3 separate regions of the Homo sapiens genome follow, and all the other regions are linked to region 2. The links are contacts of gene promoters, found by promoter capture Hi-C in human tissues and cell types (Jung and others, 2019). All regions are on one chromosome and are shown on one strand. The core of a region is centred on a gene start or on the middle of the fragment in contact, and the rest is flanking DNA. Distances in the headings are between cores, read along the strand shown. Region 1 overlaps INTU (inturned planar cell polarity protein). Region 2 holds the start of SLC25A31 (solute carrier family 25 member 31). Region 3 overlaps INTU (inturned planar cell polarity protein).

Evidence for each region. Contacts are between HindIII fragments. The study calls those that stand out against the background at their distance.
Region 1: a contact is called between a fragment that was not itself captured here and the fragment with the promoter of SLC25A31 in region 2, in 1 of the 25 tissues and cell types used here (dorsolateral prefrontal cortex).
Region 3: a contact is called between a fragment that was not itself captured here and the fragment with the promoter of SLC25A31 in region 2, in 2 of the 25 tissues and cell types used here (adrenal gland and hippocampus).

What each region holds. Positions count from the first base shown.
Region 1 is chr4:127,687,693-127,691,765 of GRCh38, forward strand. It overlaps INTU (inturned planar cell polarity protein), which reads left to right. Exons shown (of 16, transcript NM_015693.4): 8 at 1-175. Among named protein-coding and RNA genes, the nearest start is that of SLC25A31, 41 kb to the right of the region's middle. RefSeq lists an enhancer at 1-194. The HindIII fragment of the contact is 6,211 bases long and covers 1-4,073 here.
Region 2 is chr4:127,728,459-127,732,044 of GRCh38, forward strand. It overlaps SLC25A31 (solute carrier family 25 member 31), which reads left to right and starts at 1,942. Exons shown (of 6, transcript NM_031291.4): 1 at 1,942-2,319. The coding sequence starts at 2,088. RefSeq lists a silencer at 1,662-1,819. The HindIII fragment of the contact is 3,983 bases long and covers 149-3,586 here.
Region 3 is chr4:127,669,254-127,672,785 of GRCh38, forward strand. All of the region lies in intron 5 of INTU (inturned planar cell polarity protein), which reads left to right. Among named protein-coding and RNA genes, the nearest start is that of INTU, 38 kb to the left of the region's middle. The HindIII fragment of the contact is 4,484 bases long and covers 1-3,532 here.

The DNA.
Region 1 (4,073 bases), core at 293-2,792, 41 kb before region 2:
TGAGAATGTTCCTCGTTTGGATCATTTTTTTAACTTGTTCTTTCAAAGAGCACTTCAGCCTGCGAAACTGCATTCCAGCGCCAGTCCCAGTGCTCAGCAGTACGATGCTTCCAGTGCAGTACTTTTAGACAACCTCCCTGGAGTCCGGTGGCTCACACTTCCACTGGAAATCAAGGTAATCTTAGGTATTATAAAGCAGAAGCAGAACCAGGTGCCTTATTATAATCTTGTATCTTCTCTTTTTTTCGTAGACTTTTTGTTATTTTTGGAATTATGGTTAAAAATTAAAGAGGCAATTGGTTGACAAAGTAGGAGGTCCAGTGCAATAAACCCAGAAAGAGAAATTATCCTTTATAAGTAGAAATTAGCTCTCTCCTCTTACTTTTAAATTTAAGCTTTATCCAAGCTAGGACTACTTTTCAGAAATCGTAATTAAATGGTGTGTCTTACTTTGGAATTTTGTGACTTTGATTTTATAATGTAAGGTTATCAAGTTAGAATTATGTTTCTGTACAAAAAAAAAAAAAGTGGATGACATGGTTGACTAACAGTATTCTCAGTTAAAATACAAAGTCCACTAGTCTACCAAAATCTTTTTTTACATGAACATATGTGATTAGCTTTTGGCTTGTCCCATGGATCGCATACCAATAGTAAAACTGTATGACGGTTAAGAATTATCAATATGATTTTAGTTATATCTGTGAACCTAGAATAACTTTATTATTGAATGATTGACAAGATTATTTCAGACATTTTCATCAGTGTAGATCACCATATAATCTATTTAGTTACAGCATTTGTATTAGTATTAAATGAGGCATTATGCCATAGCCACTTCTCTGCTCTTGAAGAAACCTAGGCTATGTTACAGTAGAAACCTAATTCAAGTTCCTACTCTTCATAAGACTCTACAATGTATGATCAAATAAATGCCTTTTTGACAGCTTAATAGTTATTTAAATTGATGTATCAATCACTTTGCTCAGTTTCCTCATCTGTAAAATGGAGGAAATAATAGTCCCTACTTCATGGAAGATTTATGAGTTATTACACGTGAAGTATTTAGAATTGTGCCCGGCACATTGTAGTTGTAGTTATGGGAGCATTATTATACAATTACTATTTGAAAGGAGATGAGGTGTTAGAGCATGTTCAAAAGATGCTTTGCCTTCTGGTATTTTTTTTGTCCTTAGCTCTATCAACTGCCTGGTCTTTTGATATTTCAGGACAATAATTACCCTTTCCTTTCTTTCTTTCTTTTTCTTTTCTTTCTTTCTTTTTTTTTTTTTTTTTTTTTTTGAGACAGGGTCTTGCTTTGTCACCCCAGCTGGAGTGGGAGTGCAGTGGCATGATCATAGCTCACTGCAGCCTCCACATCCCAGGCTCGGGTGATCTTCTCACCTCAGCCTCTCAGGTAGCTGGGACTACACATGCACACCACCATGCCTGGCTAATTTTTGTATTTTTAAGTAGAGACCAGGTTTCTCCATGTTTCCCAGGCTGGTCTCGAACTCCTGAGCTCAAGCAATCTGCCCGCCTCAGTCTCCTAGAGTGCTGGATTACAGGCATGAGCCATGGCACCTGGCCTACCATTTTCTTAAATTGTATAAAAAACTAAGAAGTATGAGATATATAATTCTACCTAATATTTTCATAAGAATATATAAGCATTGGCTGGGCATGGTGGCTCATGCCTGTAATCCTCGTGCTTTGGGAGACTGAGGTGGGAGGATCACTTGAGGCCAAGAGTTCAAGACCAGCCTGGACAACATATGGAGACCCTATCTCCACAAAAACTTTAAACATTAGCAGAGCATGGTGGCACACACCTGTATTCCAGCTACTCAGTAGGCTGAGGTGGGAGGATTACTTGAACCCAGGAGTTGGGCTCCCCACTCAATCATAGTTGCAGTGAGCTATGATTGCACCACTGCACTACGGTGGGGCAACAGAATGAGACCCTATCTCAGGAAAGGAAAGGAAAAGGAAAAAGAAGAGGGAAAAGGGAAGAGAAAAGGAAAAAGGAAAGGAGAAAGAAAGGGGAAAGGAAAGGGGGAGGGAAGAGGCAAGGGAAGGGAAGGGAAGGATATAAGTGTTCGATATAGATAGAAACATAGAAAGTAACTAGATAACTTTACCTTTAAAAGAGAAAGACCCTGGTTCCAAAGACTGTCTCATGCCCATTCTGGGGTCTTTTATCCTCAGTCACAGGGCCCATGCCCACTTCATGAGTCAGAAGGTACCATCTCGTGAGGCTTGCCATTCTACCTGGCCATTACTTAGGTTCTTGCCCCTCTGTCAGAATTTCTTCATTAAAGAAACCTCTTCCCTCAAAATATATAGTCCCTTCTTTCTGTGATAGTAGAGGTACTTAATGTTTTAGGGGCAGTGTGTTTAGAATTTAGATACATTAAATATTATCTTCCCTCGAAGAAGTTTAAGATGTTCTAAAGTATTGTCTATTTGGGGCTTACAGATTCCATGTGAAGGCTACCTCTTTTTCATTGAGATTTTTGTTAATTTAGCATATATTTCTTTAAAAGATTTATATGCTTTTCTTTATTTCACCCTAAAAGAATATCAAATTAAGAAATCACTGTGTGAATTCTGGTATACATTTTTAATTCATTGCCTTAAACCATAGCTGTTGCTTATCTTGCCAGTGCTTTGGCTGCTTTTATCCTTGTTACGTCTAACACTGCTGTGTGGAGATCAGTGTTCATTGTGCCGGTTGCTCAAGTCTGTGCCATGCTTTGCAGAATCCAGAAAAACCTCTAGATGTTCACAGTCAGGTTGAGCAGGTGAAATTAATACACAGGAAACAGTGAGGATCTGGCTTAGATGTTTTCTACATTTTGTAGTCCAGTTAGGAGATTAAGAACAATACTTTTGGGAAGAGAGCTAGATACCTTTTGCTAAAGTAGTCTAAAGCTCTATTTGATTAATATAAAATTTGAACAACAATAACATTTGAAGTTTTTTTTATTCTATTTTTTACTGCAGTTTTAGGTTCACAGTAAAATTGAGAGAAAGGTACAGATTTCCCACGTACCCCCTTCCCCCATACATCATACATGCATAGCCTCTCCATTATCAACATTCCCCACCACAGGGGTACAGTTGTTATAATTGATGAACCTACATTGACACATCATAATAACCCAAAGTCCATCATTTACATTAGGGTTCATTCTTGGTGGTGTACATTCTATAGATTTAGACAGATTATAATGACATGGATCCATCCTTTTAGTATCATACAGAGTAGTTTCACAGCCCCAGAAATCCTCTGTGTTCTGCCTATCCCTCTCTTTCATCCCTCCCTTTCCATTAACCCCTGGAAACAAATGATCTTTTCACTGCCTCCATCATTTTGCATTTTCCAAAATGTTATATAGTTGTAATCATATGGTATGTAGTCTTTTCAGATTGGCTTCTTTCACTTAGTAATATACATTTTAAGTTCCTCTTTGTCTTTTTACAGCTTGATAGCTCATTTCTTTTTAATGCTGAATAGTATTTCATTGTTCAGGTATACCATAGTTTATTTATCCATTCGCTGAAAATCTCTGTTGCTCCCATGTTTGGGCAATTAATTCTTGGTCAAATAGCAAGAGAATGTTTAGTTTTGTAAGAAACTACCAAACTGTCTTCCAAAGTGGCTGTATTTTGTATTCCTACCAGCAATGAATGAGAGTTCCTGTTGTTCCATATCCTTGTCAGGACTTAGTTTTGTCAGTATTTTGGATTTGGGTCATTCTACTGTGTGTCTAGTTCTGTCTCATTGTTATTTTAATTTGCATTTCCCTGATGACCATATGATGTGGAATATCTTTTCATGTGCTTATTTGCCTTCTGAATATCTTGTTTGGTGAAGTGTTTGTTAAGGCCTTTGGCCCATTTTTTTTTAATTCGGTAGGTTTTTGGGGAACAGGTGGTGTTTGGTTACATGAATAAGTCCATTAGTGGCAATTTCTGCAATTTTGGTCCACCCATCACCCAAGGAGTATACACTGTACCTAATGTGTAGTCTTTTATCTCTTGCCACCCCCTGCTCTTTCCCCCAAGTT
Region 2 (3,586 bases), core at 692-3,191:
CATTCCTGGTCTGGAATCCTTCTGACCTAAATGGTTTTTTACTAGTGACAAGTACTAGTAGAAGGGTTATAACACATAAGACAAAGGAAAAATTAGAACCTAACATTCAAAAAAAGCTAAAAACTCATTTCACATTTTATAGATGTGTTGTAAGGCTCTGCAGGTCCTACAGAGTAAGAGGTGATAAGATGGGATCTCCATTTATTTCAAAACACCAAACGAGCTGTAAAAAGGGATATATTAAATGCTACTATAGAAGGATCTCCACGATATATTAAGTGAAAAAAGTGAGGTGAAAGAAAAAGACAAATGTTATGTACAGGCTAGACGTACCTCTACTGAGTATTTTTGCCGAAAGAAGTCAAACCTGAATCTGCCAACCTCCTCTAAATGAGTTCTCAAAGTGCAGTTTAGAAAACCCCTCTGTGTCACGGAGACAGGAACACCATGAAGTCAAAGGTATTTTCTTAAATGATACTATTATTTGCCTTTTTCACTTTCATTCTGTCCTGAATAAACAGTGGAGTTTTCCAGTGGCTACATGTATGATATCACAACAGACTGAATGCAAAAGCAGTAATGTGAATCTAGCTGTCTTTTATTAAATCAGACATTAGAGATTCAAAAATATAAAACAATACTATTTTTCTACTACATTTTTTATTTAAAAGTCGTACTTATGCTATCCTGTAATGGATTATTTTTATTTTAAATGAATTAAATATTTTTAAATCGTGTTTTAATTTCTGAGTGGTAAATGCCAATATACATAATAAAAACGGAAGCTTCATTGTGTCTTCAATAATTTTTTTTAAGAGACAGGGTCCTGCTCTGTTGCCCAGGCTGGAGCACAGTGGTGAGATAATAACTCACTGCAGCCTACAACTCCAGGGCTCAAGCATTTCTCCTGTCTTAGCCTCCTAAGTAGCTATACTTAGGACTACAGGCTTGTGCAGCCACGCCCAGCTATTTTTTTTTTTGTAAAGGAGGGGTCTCACTATGTTGCCCAGGCTGGACTTGGCCCAAAGTTTTGGGATTACTGGTACCTGGCCTTCAATAATTTTTCAGAGTGAAAAAGAGGGGTCCTGCAATCGAAAAGTTTGTGAACTACTCTTCTAGATAGGTCATTGGCCCTCAACCCTAGAATTAGAATTACTTCAAACACTAGAATTACCTGGAGAATTTAAATACTGATGCCAGGCCTCACTTCTAGACGTTCTGATTTAATGTGCAGGGCCTAATCCCAAGCATCAATTTGAAAAACAAAACAAAACACCCCTCATCCCCTTGAATGTGCAGTCTGGATTGAGAACCACTGCTCTGGATATTATCAATTTAAATACAATATGAAAAAGAGGAACATGTATTATGCTATGGGGGCACAATCATCAAAACGACACAGAAAGTGACTAGACAAAGGATCCCTGCTTAATTAAAGGAACAGATTAAAGCAATTTCCAAGGGAATTTGAAGCATTAACAGGCACATAGGGTGAAATTTAAGGGGAACATCACTTGAATCACACAACAGGTAAGACTGTCTTTTTTAAGATGCCAAGAAAGGTCAAAGGAACCATCTCTGGTCAAAAAAAACGTAACGGATTAAAGCGATTAAGAAAGTGAAGGGGGTAACACTAGGAACTAAAACTAAATTCTGTTAATCTCACACCGCTGGTTTACTGCTCTGGCCTAGTCTCAGCTACTAAATTTCTTCACACAGAACTGGCTCTCCTCGGCCCCTCCCCTCGCCTTTCCTGCTCAATGCTCACCGCCTCCGGACCCCTCCCTCATCAGAAAGCCCAGGCTCCGCTCGTAGAAGTGCGCAGGCGTCACCGCGCATCCAGGAGCCACGTGTCAGGAGTCACGTGTCAGGTGTCACGTGTCAGGCGTCACGTGGCTGGAGGCCGTTGGAGCGCCTGCGCAGCTTTTCCGCACGCGCCTCGCCGGCGCGCGGCTCTCTCAGCGTCCCAAGAGCCACTTTCTCGCCAGTACGATGCTGCAGCGGTTTTCCGGTTTTCCGCTTCCCTTCATCGTAGCTCCCGTACTCATTTTTAGCCACTGCTGCCGGTTTTTATATCCTTCTCCATCATGCATCGTGAGCCTGCGAAAAAGAAGGCAGAAAAGCGGCTGTTTGACGCCTCATCCTTCGGGAAGGACCTTCTGGCCGGCGGAGTCGCGGCAGCTGTGTCCAAGACAGCGGTGGCGCCCATCGAGCGGGTGAAGCTGCTGCTGCAGGTGCAGGCGTCGTCGAAGCAGATCAGCCCCGAGGCGCGGTACAAAGGCATGGTGGACTGCCTGGTGCGGATTCCTCGCGAGCAGGGTGCGTCAAGGCAGGCCGCCCCGACAGCCTCTCCCGGCGCCCTCGTCAGCTTCCCAGAGAAGAGGGTGGCTGGGAGGGGCATGATTGTGGGCCCCACAACCACAGCTACAGCTGTCGGTGATGAATTTGCTTCTTACCCTTCCAGAATTTAGTTTCTGAACCTAACAGGCTCTGCTTTTCCAGGGCCGCGTTGGTCCTGACCAAGTCCTGGTACCGGGGAGACCACTGCCTTCTCTTTCTCTAAATCTGCAGTGCGATTTACACCTTGGTGCACCTGTGCCAGGTCCAGAAGGAGAGTGGTTGACCTCCCAGGATTGAGGGAGATGCCATTAGGCACTCTGCTATAACTAGTGCTCTAAGTTGCTTAAATATTTGTTGGTATAATCACCCCACTATGCTCCAGCATGGGCGACAGAGGAGACCTTGAGTCAAAATCTATATGTATATTTGTTGAAATAGTATGTCTAAGAGAAGTACAAATATGGGAGCACTAGGGCTTACCAGTACTCTGAAACCTATTAGTGAAAAGAGGTTCTGCTTATTCTACTGAAGACCAAGGGGGTACTTCGTTCTGCCCAAAATTCAAGGGGGCCCTAAAAAAAAAAAACCCAACCCTCAGTCATCAAGATAAAAAGTATTTTAAGGCCAGGCGCGGTGGCTCACGCCTATAATCCTAGCACTTTGGAAGGCCGAGGCGGGCGGATCACTTGAGCTCGAGCTCAGGAGTTCTAGACAAGCCTGACTAACATGGCGAAACCCAGTCTATGCTAAATATACAAAAATTAGCCGGGCGTGGTGGCGCACGCCTGCAGTCCCAGCTACTTGCGGGACCCTGATGCGGGGATTTCAGGGAGCCCAGATCGCGCCACCGCACTCCAGCCTGGATGAAGGAGTGAGACCCTGTCTCAAAAAAACAAACAAAACTTTAGGGTCCTTCCGTTTCCGAAGCCCCTCTCTTTCAACTAGAGAGAGAGCTGTTCTCCTTTCTCTTTATTTTTTCTATTAAACCTCCACTCCTAAAAACAGGAAAAAAAAAAAACTTTAAACTATTTTAATGCAATCTTTTAAAAATCAAGTCATGCAAAAGAATTCATAACAAACACAATATATACAAGTTTAAAATAAAGATGGGATCAGTATTACCAGTTTTTCTTTTTGCATCAAGCACTGTCCTTATTTAAAATTTCATTTTTGTTCATCATTGATTTTTTCTATTAATATTGGAATGATTTAAAGAAATAACGAAAGTGCTTTGTGAACCATTGCT
Region 3 (3,532 bases), core at 589-3,088, 59 kb before region 2:
TATCTACAATGTATGTATTATATACATTATAGTCTATAATGTATGTATATACACGTATATATCTATACATTATAGATAACGAGCTCTGCAGAATGTCTGCAGATTTTTGCTTCATCTAAGTTATTTCTACCAGTCATCTATTTGAAGTGTAGATTCTCAACACAGCTGTAGATCTGGGTGTTTTGGCACATTTTAAAAAACACTCGGGCCTATATTTATTATTTCTTCATGAAGATGTATCTTTTAAGCATGGCATTATTATGAATCTCAGCTTTTTCATGTTTCTATCTTGATTGTTAACTTCCTAGGCAATACCTTTGTGGCAAACAGAATTGGCAAGAATGACTGAACACGAAAATTGGTCATATAGTTAGGACATATTCTGTTCTTACAACAATGATAGAAAAATACAAAATGTTCTTTAGGAGGGCTATTCATAATCTGTGAATTTTCCTGCCCTCCCACCCTTCAAAATCTCCAATGTCTGTTATTCCACATTCTATGTCCATGTGTACACATTATTTAGCTCCCATTTGTCCCTTTAATCTAACTTGATTTAGGTTAAAGGCTTAAAAGGAAGACTTGACACTATAGAAATGCTAGAGGAAAACCTAGGAAAAATGCTTCTGGACATTGGCCTAGGCAAATAATTCATGACTAAGACCTCAAAAGCAAATGCAGCAAAACCAAAAATAGACAAATAGGACAGATGCATTCGTCATCAGTGTAGTTAATGATGGATGAGCAACATTGATGTCAAATAATTTTATATTTAGAACTCTTAATATAGTCAATTATAGAGTCAAATACCCATTCCATTGATTTATTAAGCCCTGACATTGAAATGCCATAGTTAATTTATGGGAGGAAAAGGCTCAAAGCTTTTAGGTTTTGTGTTTTTTTTCATAAAATAAATCTAAGAATTATAAACAATTTTTCTTCCTTATTATTTCAACAATTTTAGACTTTACAAGGAAATTTTATCTCAAATTTCAACAGCCTCCGTAATACTGAAAAAATATCAAGTTGGATTTTCTAGGCTTTAACTTTTTTTCCCCCATATTCAGGTAGAAATGACATTTCTATGATTTTAAAAGAGGTAGAATCTACAAGGCAATAGACAGAAGAATTTTATGTTTTAACTAATTAAAAGTCATGTTTAACTATGTGACTTTAATATAGTGTATATACAAACTGTTAGTTTATTTTCAATACAGTAGTACTGGAGGCTCTATTTAGTTTATAAATTTGGGTTCATAAAAGCATATTGCAGGCCTCTTTTTATTTTTTAAAAATCTTTATTGAGATATAGTACATAAGTGATACAATTCACCCATTTGAAGTGCATGTGTAATCCTAAAATTGGTATGGAACCAAAAAAGAGCCTGAATAGCCAAAGCAGTCCTAAGCAAAAAGAACAAAACTTGGAGGCATCACATCACCTGACTTCAAATTATGCTACAAGGCTTTCTATAGTAACCCAAAACAGCATGGTACTGGTATAAAAATAGACATAGATCAATGGAACAGAACAGAGAACACAGAAATAAAGCCACATGCCTATAGCCAATTGACCTTTGACAAAGTTGACAAAAATATACACTGGGGAAAGCACACCCTATTCAATAAATGGTGCTGGGAAAGTTGGATAGCCATATGCAAAAGAATGAAACTGAACCCATCTCTCTCACCATATACAAAAATGAACTCAAGTTAGATTAAAGACTTAAGTGTAATGCCTGACACTATAAAAATGCTAGAAGAAAACCTAGGAAACACTCTTCTGGACTTTGACCTAGGCAAATAATTCATTAGTAAGACCTCAAAAGCAAATGCAACAAAACCAAAAAATAGATAAGTAGGTCTTAATTAAACTGAAAAGTTTCTACACAGCAAAAGAAATAGTCCAGAGTCAATAGATAGCCTGCGGAATGAGAGAAAATATTTGCAAATTGCACATCCACCAACTGACTAATATCCAGAATCTATATAAGGAACTCAGACAACTCAACAAGAAAACAACAAATAACCCCATTAAAAAGTGGGCAAAGGACATGAACAGACATTTTTTAAAAGAAGACATACAAATGGATAACGTGCATATGAAAAAATGCTCATCACTAATCATCAGAGAAATGCAAATTAAAAGCACAATGAGATAACATCTTACACCAGTCAGAATGGCTATTATTAAAAGGTCAAAAAATAACAGATGCTGGTGAGGATGCAGAGAAAAGGGAATGCTTATACAGTGCTGGTGGAATTGTAAATGAGTACAACCTCTACAGAAAACAGTATGGAGATTTCTCAAAAAACTAAAAATAGAACTACAATTTGATCCAGTAACCCCATGACTTGGTATATAACCAAAGGAAAAGAAATCATTATATCAAAAAGGTACCTGCACTCATATATTTATGAGTGCTATTCACAATAGCAAAGATAATGGAATCAATCTAAGCATCCATCAACAGATGACTGGATAAAGAAAATGTGGTGTATGTATATACTATGGAATAAAAAAGAACAAATAAATAAATGGAGTAAATTAAATAAATAAATGGAATAAATAACAGAGAATGAAATCATGTCATTTGCAGCAACGTAGATAGAACTGGAGGCCATTATCTTAAGTGAAACAACTCAAACAGAAAGTCAAATATCACATATTCTCACTTATAAATGGGGGCTAAATAATGTATACACATGGACATAGAGTGTAAAATAACAGACATTGGAGCTTTTGAAGGGCGGGAGGGGAGTCAGAAATGAAAAACTACTTAATGGATACAATGTACACTCCTTAGGTGATGGTTACACTAAAAGCCCAGACTTCACCACCATGCAACATCCATCTATTAAAACTGTACTTGTACTCCCTAAATATATACAAATAATAAATTTTAAAGTGTACAAGTAAATGCTTTTTGGTGTATTCACAGATATGCGCAACCCTCATCAAACTCAATTTTAAAACATTTTTCTCACCTCAGAAAGAAATCCTATACCCTTTAGCTCAGCCAGCCCAACCCCTGGGCAACTGCTAATCTACTTTCCATTCCTATAGATATCCCTGTTCTGGATATTACATATGAATGGAATCATATAATGTGTGGCTATTTGTGACTGGCTTCTTTCATTTAGCATAAGGAGGTGCATTCCTCCTTTTCAGTCTCATTAGAAAGAAAATTTAAGTTTCTCTGTGCGGTGTTGCTTTTTTTTTTTTTTTTGCCTTTATTTTTTCTACTGTAAAGAATAGATGTTATTTTACCTAATATTTAGATTTTGTTATTAACCATGAGATATGGGTTAATTGTGGAAAGCAGTAAATACAGCTAGAAAAACTTTTTTAAGAAGGTAATAAATATGAAAATTATTTTAGGGGTTCCTTAGCAATGTGTGTATCTTTTGTTGCATACACACTTTTTAAACTATAGTAATATTAGTATACTATAAGAGGCTAATATTTGTCTGAAAGTGTATGCATTTCTAAAAGTATTAAGACAAAAGCAATGTTCTGTGTGAAAAAATT